Linked DNA regions of Homo sapiens: region 2 is linked to region 1. The links are contacts of gene promoters, found by promoter capture Hi-C in blood cells and fetal thymus (Javierre and others, 2016). All regions are on one chromosome and are shown on one strand. The core of a region is centred on a gene start or on the middle of the fragment in contact, and the rest is flanking DNA. Distances in the headings are between cores, read along the strand shown.

Evidence for each region. The method cuts DNA at HindIII sites, captures the fragments that hold promoters and counts their contacts. A CHiCAGO score of 5 or more calls a contact.
Region 2: a contact is called between a fragment that was not itself captured here and the fragment with the promoter of PROK1 in region 1, in 1 of 17 cell types (M2 macrophages). The highest score is 5.4, in M2 macrophages.

What each region holds. Positions count from the first base shown.
Region 1 is chr1:110,446,893-110,452,903 of GRCh38, forward strand. PROK1 (prokineticin 1) reads left to right here and starts at 4,257. Exons shown (of 3, transcript NM_032414.3): 1 at 4,257-4,396. The coding sequence starts at 4,325. The HindIII fragment of the contact is 11,265 bases long and covers 1-4,836 here.
Region 2 is chr1:110,414,369-110,420,889 of GRCh38, forward strand. LAMTOR5-AS1 (LAMTOR5 and SLC16A4 antisense RNA 1) reads left to right here. Exons shown (of 3, transcript NR_102697.1): 3 at 1,641-1,906. Among named protein-coding and RNA genes, the nearest start is that of LAMTOR5-AS1, 9.8 kb to the left of the region's middle. The HindIII fragment of the contact is 331 bases long and covers 2,196-2,526 here.

The DNA.
Region 1 (6,011 bases), core at 3,007-5,506:
TCAAGTGATTCTCCTGCCTCAGCCTCCCGAGTAGCTGGGATTACAGGCACATGCTATCAGGCCTGGCTAATTTTTGTATTCTTAGTACAGATAGGGTTTCACCATGTTGGCCAGGCTGGTCTCGAACTCCTGACCTCAGGTGATCCACTTGCCTCTGCCTCCCAAAGTGCTGAGATTACAGGCGTGAGCCACTGCACCCAGCCAAAGGGAGCATATTTGAACACATGTGCTCAAACATTAACACAAGATCCGCCCACTCAGGCAGGAGCAAGGAGACCCCTGGACATGGGCTCCCTTTCTAGCTTGCAGAACAATAACCATGATCTTAAGGTAGAGTGGAAAGGGGCTTCTCAACCTCTCCCCCATGCTTAGGTGAGACTTACTCCATGCCTGAAGGTAAACAGTCTCAGAGGACTATGCCAGGTCAGGGAATATTCCACTCCATAGTCTCACTCCATGAGAAGGTCGCCCTACATCTTGAGGGGCCCCTCAAGGTAGGCCTTGAGATTGGCTGTTGCTACACGCGCACACACACACATCTGTATAAATGGTCCATGGTGACACTGACATCAGCTAAAGCAGAGAAATAAGGGCCAGGCTGACGTTATGAGATGTGAACTGCACGTAGCCCTTCTACACAGACACTCAATGGCATGCTGCCCACCTGCCCTCATTCTCTCCGCAGGTGTGTAGGATTCTGGGAAAGGCTTGCCCGGCACATCTTCTCCACTAGCTCTCTCCTCCCTCAGCGGAACCAAGTCCACTTTTAGCACTTTCACCGTTTCCCCTCCATTTTTTACCACTTGCTTCTTGTCTCACCTCCCCTCCGGCTTCCCTCCTTTGTCTCCTCCAGTTCATGCTTGCTTAGTTCAGGGTTTTCCTCTCCTTTCCACTGTCCTTTTCCACACTGCACCTGGCAGCCAAAAAGTAACCCTAACCATGGCAAAAAAGAATCAAGTACTGTTGAAATCCACCTAGACAAGGGAACAGGAGAGCTCTAAGGTCTAGAGGGAAATTAGACCCTAGAAGTGCGAGTTCCTGGTCCTGACACATGGAAGGAACTGAATGAATGTGTAATTGAGTTATTGAATAAAGAATCAGTACTGCTTATCCCCGGAGCTCCTCAGAGTCTCTTCTGGGATTTCCACCAAGTTGCCCTCTGTCCCTTGTCCTCCTCTAATTAAAATGGCTTTTCCTCAAGCACTAGCATTCAAGAGAAATAAAATGCTTTTAATCAATGCTATTGGTTTTGTTTTGCAACAGCATTTCTTGCTACCATTCTTCACTGCAATTGTGAGATGATTAGTTTTGTGTGTTTGTGGCAGTGGGGAGGGAGGGAGTGAGAATAGGGGAGCGAATGGGACGGGTGTTAGCCTGAGAATCACCTGATCTGACATTGTCTCTTGGAAGGCAAACTTGTGAGGTGGGGTAGTGTGTGCAGGGCAAGCAGAGCCCACAGGACCACTTCTGTAAGGTGTTCCAAGCCCCCAGCAAAGTGCTGCCTCCTCCCTAGGTAGCTTTTCTCCCAGAGCAGAAGGTCCTCCAAGGCTCGGATGGTCTCTTGATTCTTCTGTCACCAGCCCGGCCCAGTGTCACAGTGTACAGGTGGGCCTTACAGACTCATTATTTTGATTCTCACCTCCCAGGAGAATTTTATATTAAGGCATACAAGTTCATATGTTTATAGAAAAAACTGGCCATTGGTAGCAAATGCTGCTGTGTGCCAGGCATTGTGGTAAGCACTTCATATGCATCACCTCACTTAACTCTCCATCTGCAGTCAGAGGGATCCTTTCAAGGTGTGAATCAGGCCAGGTGCGGTGGTGTGTGTCTACAGTCCTAGCTACTCTGGAGGCTGAGGCAGGAGCATCGCTTGAGCCCAGGAGTTCCAGGCTGCAGTGAGCTATAATCACACTTCAACCTGGCTAACAGAGCAAGACCTTGTCTCTAAAAAAAATCCAAGTGTATACCAGATCCTGCCTCTCCCCTGCTCCAAACTCTCCAAGGGTTCCCATCACACTTGGAGTCAGGTTCCTGCCATGTCCCACAAGGCAGGCTGGATTTGGTCTTTGGCTCCTGCTCCAACTGCATCCCCTCCCATCCCGTCCCCTGGCTCACCTCACTCTTTGCTTCTCCTGGAACTGGCCAAAAAGCCCTGCCACAGGGTTGTTGCACTGACTTTTCATCCAGGCTCTGTCCAGCTCACTCCTTCACTTTATCAGTCATCTGCACAAGTGCCTTCTCAGACAGACCCTTACCACATCTAAAATATCACCACTTGTCAAGGTCTGTTGCTTTCCCTGCCTTTCTCCCCACCACCTTTTTTTTATTTTTTGAGATGGAGTCTCGTTTTGTTGCCCAGGCTGGAGTGCAGTGGCGCGATCTCGGCTCACTGCAACCTCTGCCTCCCAGGTTCAAGTGATTCTCTTGCCTCAGCCTCCCGAGTAGCTGGGATTACAGGCGTGAGCCACCACAGCTGGCTAATTTTTATATTTTTACTAGAGATGGGGTTTCACCATGTTGACCAGGCTGGTCTCGAACTCCTGACCTCAAGTGATCCGCCTGCCTCTACCTTCTAAGTGCTGGGATTACAAGCATGAGCCACTGCGCCTGGCCTTCCTTTTTAACAGTGCTCAACACAACTGGCCATTTTATTACAAATCTGTTTATTTGTCTATTACCCGTCTCCTTGACTATAGTCAAAATTACATGAGGACAGGGTTTTGTTTTGTTCACTGCTATATTCCCAGTGCCAAGAACAGTGTCTTCTATACAGTAGGCTCTCAATAAATATAGTCAATGAATAAATAAATAGATGAATACTCGCAAAATCGTATGATGTAAATGCTATTCTTATCCCATGTTATAGATAGGAAAACTGAGGCTTGGAGAGATTAGCAATATTTTCAAGGTCATGAAGCCATCGATCTGAATCAAAGCATCTGCCTCTGGGGGCTTAGCTCCCAGCTCCCGTGCTAGTTAACCTTCCTCTCTGCACTCATAAATGCCTATCAGCGTTTCAATGTGGAAACCCTAGACCCCTGTGACATTTGATAAGAAAGGTTTTGTGGATGAATCTGCTTGTGAAATACTACAAACTGCATTTCCCACTTGGTGTTTCAAACACTTATTAGCATATGAAAGGCCCTGAAAAGTTCTGCAAAAAACAAGCCGGTTTGTGTTTCCCAAATTTTTGACTGTAGAAGTCTTTTATTTGTTTATTTGTGTATTAACATATTGCAACACATACCTTGGGAAATGTTGGCTTTTATTACTGTGGAGAGAAGGCAGATCATCTGACAAAGCACTGGGAGCTCTCTCTGGGTCGTATGACACAGAGAGGGCTGGGGTCAGGGGCTTCCCTCACAGGCGGAGGGGCCATCCCGAAAGTCAACTTCCCACCAGACTGGCATCTGAGACCACCGTGTTTATACACTCACGGATAAGGCCACTCTCATGCTCACCCCTAAAACTGGAAGGCCAGTGGTGTGGCTCTGGTACCTTTCAGCCACAGCCCATACCAGCTCGGCTCTGCAGGGTACTGAGAGAGTGTGTGCCCTGTATGTTTGCTGGCTTTCTGCCCTTGGGTCATTGTACCAAGGGACACTTGCTGGTGTTCATCCTGAGCCCATGAGAGAGCAAATCCTTATGTGTGTGTCACTTAGGAACATCAGCCCCACAAGTCTGGTCTTTTTTTCCTCACTGTCTTATGGCTCCTCACTATAATTTTAACCTTTTAGAGAAATAAGGATACCACCTCACCCTCTTCTGTCTTCTCAGCTACCTCTGTGTTGAGCCCATGGTAAATGCCTAGATAAGTCTTGGTGTGAGTGAGAGGGAACCAATAATCTTGTATGTTGCATAGTTTGGTGCAGGGAAGCATAAATGGTGATGTTGCAAATCCCTTAATTCATTACCAGAGGCTTTCCTCTGCCCCAAGTAGGATAGAAGGATACCCAGAGGCAGAAAAGAACATTGAGTGAAATATACATAACTGTCTGAATCACTGCGTTCTTGGGAGAGTTAGAGCAACCGTCAAAGCCCCCCAAGTATCCATTTTTATTGGTTTTGATGTTGATTTGATGTTGTTAGAGATTCAGGTCTCATCTTCGCTTCTGAGATCATCTGAGTAACATCGGTGTTGGAGAAGGGAAGAGCAGAGATGAGGCATCCACAGGCAGCCCTGGATCCTGAGTGTAAACATCTGGGAGGAGGCGGGGGATGCAGGAGAGCCTGGCCTCCCCAGCTTGCCAGGCACAAGGCTGAGCGGGAGGAAGCGAGAGGCATCTAAGCAGGCAGTGTTTTGCCTTCACCCCAAGTGACCATGAGAGGTGCCACGCGAGTCTCAATCATGCTCCTCCTAGTAACTGTGTCTGACTGTGCTGTGATCACAGGGGTAAGTCGCCTAACATTCTCTGTGCCTTGGGTTTTGGGAAGATGTCAGGGTCTGCACGGGTTGTGAGCCCAGGAACCATGCAGGAGGCTCTGTTGGCTCAACACAGTGTGAACCAAAGGGAATGGGGAATTATGCATTAAAGGGATTGCATGCGATTTTCAGACTAGTTAGACCTCACTCTACTAAATGGGATCTGCTTTTGAGAAGCTGTGTATGAATCAAATCCTGTTTTCAATGTGTTAGCAGAGCATTGAACATTTTGAAGTTCAGTCCTTTGGTAAAGTGAAGATTCCTATTAAGTAATAAGGAATTCCTTTATAAAGTGGATTGGCAAACCTTAACTTATCTTTTGTGTGAATTTTAATTTTTATTTATGGTCTGATTCACATATTAATATTAATATTAATTTACATAGCATGTTGACTTAATTAAAGGCAGTAAGCTTAATTAAAGGTGGTAAGCTTATAAACTTCTATTGTATAAACTTAACCTCCGCTTAGAAAGGATATCTTTGAAACTCTTTCACTCTGTGCCTGCCTAGTTAGTTCTGAGAGGAATATGGGTGCCACTAACATTCAGCTGAGTGTACCCCAAAGCAAGCATCCAGATAACAAGTAGATATCCAGTCTCGAAGCAGAGAAGCAAAGGTTCAGCATATGGGCACTGTACAATTGGTTCAAAATATTCAGATCATGGTTTTCTCTCGGAAGTTTGCTTTTACCTCAAACCACCTTCAAATAGGGGCACATGATGTGTTATGGTAGCAGGACCATTCTTACTGAAGCAGAAAGCAATGCTGTACCTGAGAGCTTTCCATATAAAATCCACTGGAAGAAAAAGGTCGGGGAAGCAGGGAAACTAACTTTTAGTTCAGCCTCCACCAGCTTTTTACATGGATAGTGGAAATGTAGAGAAATGCCAAACAATTCCTGGAATTGGGTTAATTTTACCATTCACAGAAAGGACAAATTCTTTCTTTTCTCTTTTAAAGGAAAAACACTGAGTTCAAAAGAACAAATATTAAAGGCGAGTCAAATGCTTTTGAGATCCAAAGCAAAAATAAAAATAATTGTGAAGGCAGAATTATACCTAATGAAGTGTTTACACTGTAGGCTGCCCTTCTATGGGGTAGCTTGAAAATCTGGGAGGGCAAGAACAATGGAGAGAAGCCCCGGCTGCTGCGCGGTGAGGGCAGGAGCAGCGTGGTTGGCCTGGATGCCAGGCTTGCCTCACCACCCGTGCCAGCTCCAGCACTGGCCCAGAGTGACAGCAGGGCAGGCAGATCTGAGAGCGGCAGGCAAACATTTTCACGGTGAAAAGCACAATAGAGAGCACTTTTCCCTAGGTGAGGGAAACCCAGGAAAGACAGGTGAGTGGTGAGAACAGGGCAGTAAGGGGAAGTCAGGAACCCCCAGGCTCCCCACATCCTCCATGTCCTGCTGGTGTCCCACTTCTGATTTTCAGCAGGAGCCCAGGCTCCACCACCTCTACACTCCCCTGCTCCCTGGACTGTAACTGTCCCCACATCCAAGGCTTTATGATCCTTCTTCCAAGAGTGGGACAGTGATGCCCCACCTCTATGGGAGAAGAAGAGTCGACTGGGGTTTCCTTTACC
Region 2 (6,521 bases), core at 1,111-3,610, 34 kb before region 1:
TGAGGCTCAGAGAGGGGAAGGGACTAATTTGGACCTTTAACTTCGGATTCTTAACTTTCTTTCTGGTGTTCTAACTATACTGTACTACAAGAGGCTGTCTTAGAGCTTTAGTTCAACCAGCTTCAGAGATACTCATTGTTATGGGTTGAATTATGTCTCCCCAAAATTCATATGTCAAAGTTCTAACCCCCAGTACCTCAGAATGTGACCATATTTGGAGATAGGACCTTTACAGAGGTAATCAGGTGAAAATGAGGTTGTTAGGGTGGGCCTTAGTCCAGTATGGCTGGTGTCCTCATAAAAAGGGGAAATTTGGACACAGATGTACATAGAGGGAAGATGGTGTGAAGAGACATAAAGAACAGATAGTCATCTATAGCCAAGGCCTGGAACAGATCCTTCCCTAACAGCCCTCAGAAGGAAGCAACCTCACTGACACCTTGATTTTGGACTGCTACCCTCTGGCACTGTGAGACAATAAATTCATGTTGGTTAGGCCACCCAGTTTGTTATGGCAGCCCTAGGAAACCTTTGTGGATATATCTGTTCGTATACCCATAAAGTCTGCAAGTCAAAAATATCACAGACTTTTGGCAGCCCTTCATTCAAGCACTGGCTGGGAGGGTCACCCTCCCCGAGGCAAAAGGATAGAGCAAATGATCTTTCCAGCTTGCTCCCAACCTTGATCTTTGGCCAAGATATTTTTCTTTCACTGGACATTGGCCAACATTGGTGTCATAACTTAATTTGACTGTGACCTTCTTGAGTCTTTTATGTCTCTGAGCTTGACCTGTAGAAGAAGCTCAATAAATGTGGGTAGAGGGGATGAGTGGGAAAATCAGCTCCCAGCCATTCCAGTTCAAGCCTCTTCAAGCAGAAGAGTCCCACCTGAAAGACCTCATTTTCACTTGATTACTCGATCTCCAAGCAATAGGTGGGGCAGGAAGCAGGGTATGTAAGGCCTGTCAGTGGATGGAAGTTGAAGTTGGACACCATCTCCTAAAGTTTAGAGCTGAGCCCAAATTCTGGAAAACACAAGCAAAATACATTTTATATGACTCAGGATGGGCTAAAGAAGTTCCAGTACAGGAAACTGTTTTCCTGCTGCTTTATTAATTTTGCTACAGAGGATAAATGAGATGCAGACTTTCATATCCAAGTCTTCATTAGATGCCCAGTTAATGCAGCCATGACAAATGGGAATGAAGCCCTTATGAATAAAAAAAAGATCAACCCAGTATAAAAAAATCATAGACCAGAGAAATGAAAATTTAGAGGAGCTGATAAAATACCCTATCCTTAATTAGACTGTCAGCATACACATCAAATCAGCCTTAATGCCAAGATTTATTGGCCTTGGAATTGGGTAAATGAAATAAGTGCTTACAAATGAATGGAAAAGAAATTACCTGTATTAAAACGTATTTGTGATGCAGGCCTGTGCACTGAGGGTTTTAGTCAAACTCAGGCTTGCAGCTTCTTTTGCTCTGCATCCATTTCCACCCCATGTTCCCCAGTGGGTTTCAGAGACCCTCTTTGTGGGGTAACAATATGTACCATTGTCAACTACCTCTGCTGTTGTCCTGGAAAAATCCTTCTTGGACAGTAAAATATTTTTGTCTTTATTTCACCATCTCCAGATTAGATGGGTGTTACTGATTCTTACCTCAGAGAAGAGAATGTCATGGAGACAAAATGACCTGCTTAGAGTTCTGCACCCCCCAGCATGGAGAGCAGAGCGCAAAGATTTCTTCCGGACTCCCACATTCCCCTTGGAATCCAAGAACTGGTCTACTGTCACAACACTTTAGTACCCTCTTGTAAGCCTGTGGACAAATCCTCTGATGCCTTGATACCTCGGTTTTCCCCCACTATAAATGGGAAGATAAATTCACTAGAAACAGTACTTACCTTGCAGTGTCATTATGAGAATTTCATGAGACAATGCAATATAAAGCTCCTAGCACAGTTCCAGGCACCATTGTAAGCACTGAACAAATGAAAGCTGTTGTCATTAGGATCTCAAGAAATGACAGCTGAGGCAAATGTGGATTAGACTGCATTCAGCATTCTTAGCTGCAAGCAACAGAAGCTGACGCTGGTTTAAAGAATAGGAAAGGAAGTTAATTAAAATGACATTGGGTAGCTTGTGGAACTGGGAGGACTAGAGAGCTCAGTCTAAGTTCTAGTGACAAAGCTTCAAATCATACATGAGGAAAATGCCCCTCTGCAGGAGGAACGTAATCCTGCAATCACTGCTTCCCCTGAAGCCAGATGCCTCTACTGCTGCCCTTCCCAGCAGTGATGGAGCCTGGATCACATACCTGGCTTTAGTTGTAAAGGAGGCTGGAGAGAAAATGCTCTGCTCTATGTAACTGTCTTGAAAGTGGCCCACACATAGCAAAGCCATTCAAAAGCGGGTGAGCAGCATGAAAGCATCCAGAAGGATTCTTGCTTTGCATGAGGGAGAACTCTTGCTCCCAGAGTGTGAGACCAGCAGGGGCATTTTCCTCATGTGTGATTAGAAGCTTTGTCACTAGAAGCTTAGACTGAGTAGGACACCTCTGAGTGTGAATGTCCTACCTGAGTTCTGCCTCATGCAAAGCAAGAATCCCTCTGGAGGGATTGACACCACAGCCTCTTCCACAATGTCTCCAAACAACTTTACTGGGCAGCATTCCACTCCTTGACAAACGGGAGAGGTGCATTCTACCTTCTCTCCTGCATGAGCCTAGACTAATATGGAATTTGGGAGTGTTGATCATTGTACTTTGTGCTCCTAGAGATAAGGGTCATCATAAAGCATCTCAGAGTCTCACTGTAGATCCACAGTTCCATTTCTTTATGGATCCCTTACCCCTACTTTGCCAAATTCTATGCAGATAGCAATAATAATTCAGACAGGGCTTCCTCACTGAAGGAGTTTGTGCTCTATATAGTTAATAAGCTAGAGATAATGAAAAAAAAAAAAACTCAACTTGAACTTTGGGTAAGAGAAACTTTTCAGACCAACGATCATTACCAATAACAGCTTCCACGCATGACCCTGCCCGGAGATTGGGGCCTGCACTACTGTTTCCAGGAAACACATTCTTTTGAATTTTTTTATTTTCTTTGTAGAGATGGGGATCTCACTCTGTTGCCCAGGCTGGTCTCAAACTCCTGGCTTCAAGCAATCCTCCTGCTTCGGCCTCCCAAACTTCTGGGATTACAGATATGAGCCACCACGGCTGGCTGACAGGCACCAAATTCTAGGAGAGGACTTGAATAGAGTAGGCATCTGTCTCTCCCCATTCCTTTCAGGGACAGAGCTCTCCTGGTTGGGAGAAAGGGAGAGGGAGAGGGAGGAGGATGAATAGTGAAGCACCAAACCTCAGAATTAAGGCCTTTTTCTTTTCTTTCTTTCTTTCTTTTTTTTTTTTGAGATGGAGTTTCGCTCTTGTTGCCCAGGCTGGAGTGCAATGGCACAATCTCGGCTCACCGCAACCTCTGCCTCCCAGGTTCAAGCGATTCTCCTGCCTCAGCCTCCCGAGTAGCTGGGATTACAGGCATGCGCCACCACACCCAGTTAACTTTTTTGTATTTTTAGAGACGGGGTTTCTCCATGTTGGTCAAGCTGGTCTCGAACTCCCGACCTCAGGTGCTCTGCCCGACTTAGCCTCCCAAAGTGCTAGGATTACAGGCGTGAGCCACCATGCCCAGCCAGAATCAGGGCCTTTTTAAAACTTCAGTGTCTTGTCTTTACCCTTCATGGTGCCTAGAAAAGCATCTGGCTCATAGGTGTTCAGTGAATGATTGTTTCATTAGTGAAGAAATTCCCTTTGGAAATCTCATAGGAAACTTACCCTCTCCAACCCTTCACCTGTGCATTATTCCAGCTCCCAAGGAGGCAGCAGAAACTGGGGTAATCACAACGGTCAACAGCAGCAAAGGCAGCACTTTCTGATTTACTTGACTGCTATGGATGCCACCTCTCTCCACGCCTCAGTTTAATATCTGTAAGTTTGGTCAGTATCTCATTCAAGAACATTGCATTTACTCTGGTACTTAAAGATGAAAAATCAACATTTACAAAGCAGATCCATTGTCAACCTAAATAACAAACAAAGAGAGTCTCTATAAAAGAAAAGAATATTTATTTGGGAATAGAGCATTGCATAGGAATATGCCTGCCTTAGTAATGCATGTATTCAGGGAGGTAGAGGAAGACAAAGGTTTTTAACAGAAAAAATGTGGAGAATTACATAATTGTTTTGAAATAATTATCCTTGGCTATAAAGATCAATAACAAGGGTGATGCGAGTCCAAGGTTGGACAGGCAGTTGCTGGGCAGATGTCTTTGCAGAAGTCTTTTTTGTGTAAGGTTGTAATGGCTTTTGTAGGAGGTTGTGGCTTTTGCAATCTTTTGTGATAGCTTTTGTTACCAGGCATACAAGCATGAGAATGCTCTCTTCAGGGCCTTCCCTAGCTCTATTTATCAGGGGTTTCTTGTTAGTGATTCCATTTTGATTCTGACAACTTTCATGGACATTATCTCATTTAATCTCACAGTCATTCCATGACTCTATCCCCATTTTGTGAATGAAGTAACTGAGGTCTGGAGAGGTCAACTAACTGGTCAAGGTCATAGAACTTGAAAATTTTCATTGTCTTGGGTCTCTAATACTGGGGCTGACCATTCTCCCAGGCAATGTTGAGTGAGTTGGCCCAGGTGAGTCGGCTCCTCTGCAATTGTGTCTCCTCAACTAGTTTGAACAACACAGGCCTGTGAGCCAGTCCCATAAAGTGGCTAGGGGTTCCCTTCTCCCCATTTCCCCTCATCAACAGGAGGACTTGTCTGTGTGCCTTCAGACACCACACAGTAAATCAACTGCCACATTCATTCTGGACCATCAGTATTTTGCCCCAGGAGAAAGTCAGAGGCAAGCACACTAATATCTCATTGATATTTTCAATTGCCAAAGGGGAAGTGAGATGAATCTAATCCCATCTGTCAAGGTGGAGAAGAGCTGATTCGAAAGCAGCATAGATTACTTTAAGGAGATGACAGTTTATCACTCTCTGGACAAGGGAATATGAAATGAGGACTAACCTCCTTTATGAGTTGGTAAAAACATTGATCAGCAAAGACAATGTCTGGGGAAATGAACAGCAAGTTCTCTGGCCCTTTTTCCACTTTTCCTTTCCCCGAGACTTTATGTTATATATACACACTCACACAAACAGGACAGAATCCACCTCCTGCCCCTCAAGAAATAGTTAACATTTGTTGAGGATTAATTATTGCCAGGCTCTGTACTCCATGTTTTATATTTACTATCCAGAAGCCTTAATTGTTAAATGAGGTAAGTGTTATTATTAGAACCTTTGTACAGATGTGGAAACTGAGGTGTATAGAGGTTGACTTGCCCAAGGTTACCCAGCTAGTGAAGAATGAAATCAGATGCAGTCCAGCCAACGCTTGGCCTGCCGTCAGTCACACGCAGTACACGTAGATCAGTCAGCCTGGAAAGCCACCTAGACAGCCCTGCTTCACTCCATCCTTGGTCAGCACCTTAGAGAGCCCTGCTGACCCCAAGAGGATGTGCCTTTTACGGGTTGTAGAGGCTGAACCACAGCTGAGGGGCTGGAATGAGTGGGGGCCTCAGACAGGGTGTCTGGAGAGCTGAGGCTCAAGGAAGGGTGGAGGGGGTGCTGAAGCTGAAGGCCGTGGGTCTTGCCAGCAAGTGGGGCTCAGTGAGCCGAGGTGCCTCTCAGTTACTTCCATGTGTGAATTTCCGGTGGAGGACAGTGATGGGCTCTGGGCCCTTGGAAACCGGGACATCCAGCGTGTCCAGCCACAGTGCAGGCTGCCCTGGCTGCTGAGAGTCTCAGAAAATGCCACTGTCATGGGTTAGGAAGGCCTGGGGACCACAACAATGTGACTTCAAAAAACCCAAGAAGGAATGTGCACACCTGAGATGCTCAGAATGCATGTGTCAGTGTTCAGTTCTGACTCCTTGCTTCAGCCAGGGACAGAAGAACCTTCTACAGTAAAGAACCACAAGAGAGGGCTTTGCTGCCAGCCTCAGCCAGGGACACTTGGCGGCCAAAGCAAAGGTCACTCCAGGGCTGCAGATTTCAGCCTCTGCGGCCAGAAACAAGCTTCCCAATTAATAATACTCTGGATCGGACAGAGATGGCTGCTCTGTCTCAGGCGTGTTTGCCGTTGATCCCTGTGATTGATGCTGATAACATTAAGAGTCTGTCAGGGTGATATTTCATGAATGTCTCATGTGATGGGATGATACAGTCGGGAAATGCAATTCCCTAGCTCAGGCAGAATCAGAGATGACCCAAAGTGCTGATGGAAAGGCTGAGGCCCTTTCCAGCCTCTGGCAGGGTAGGGAAAGCGGGTGAGGTGGGGGCTTGGGAGGGGCTGGGCTGACCTAGAGCTGTAACAGGGGTCTCTCATGAAGGGCTGTGAAGAGAAACAGTATGTGAGAGAGGCAAGAAACTTTTCTCTGGGTTTCCTCATGTAG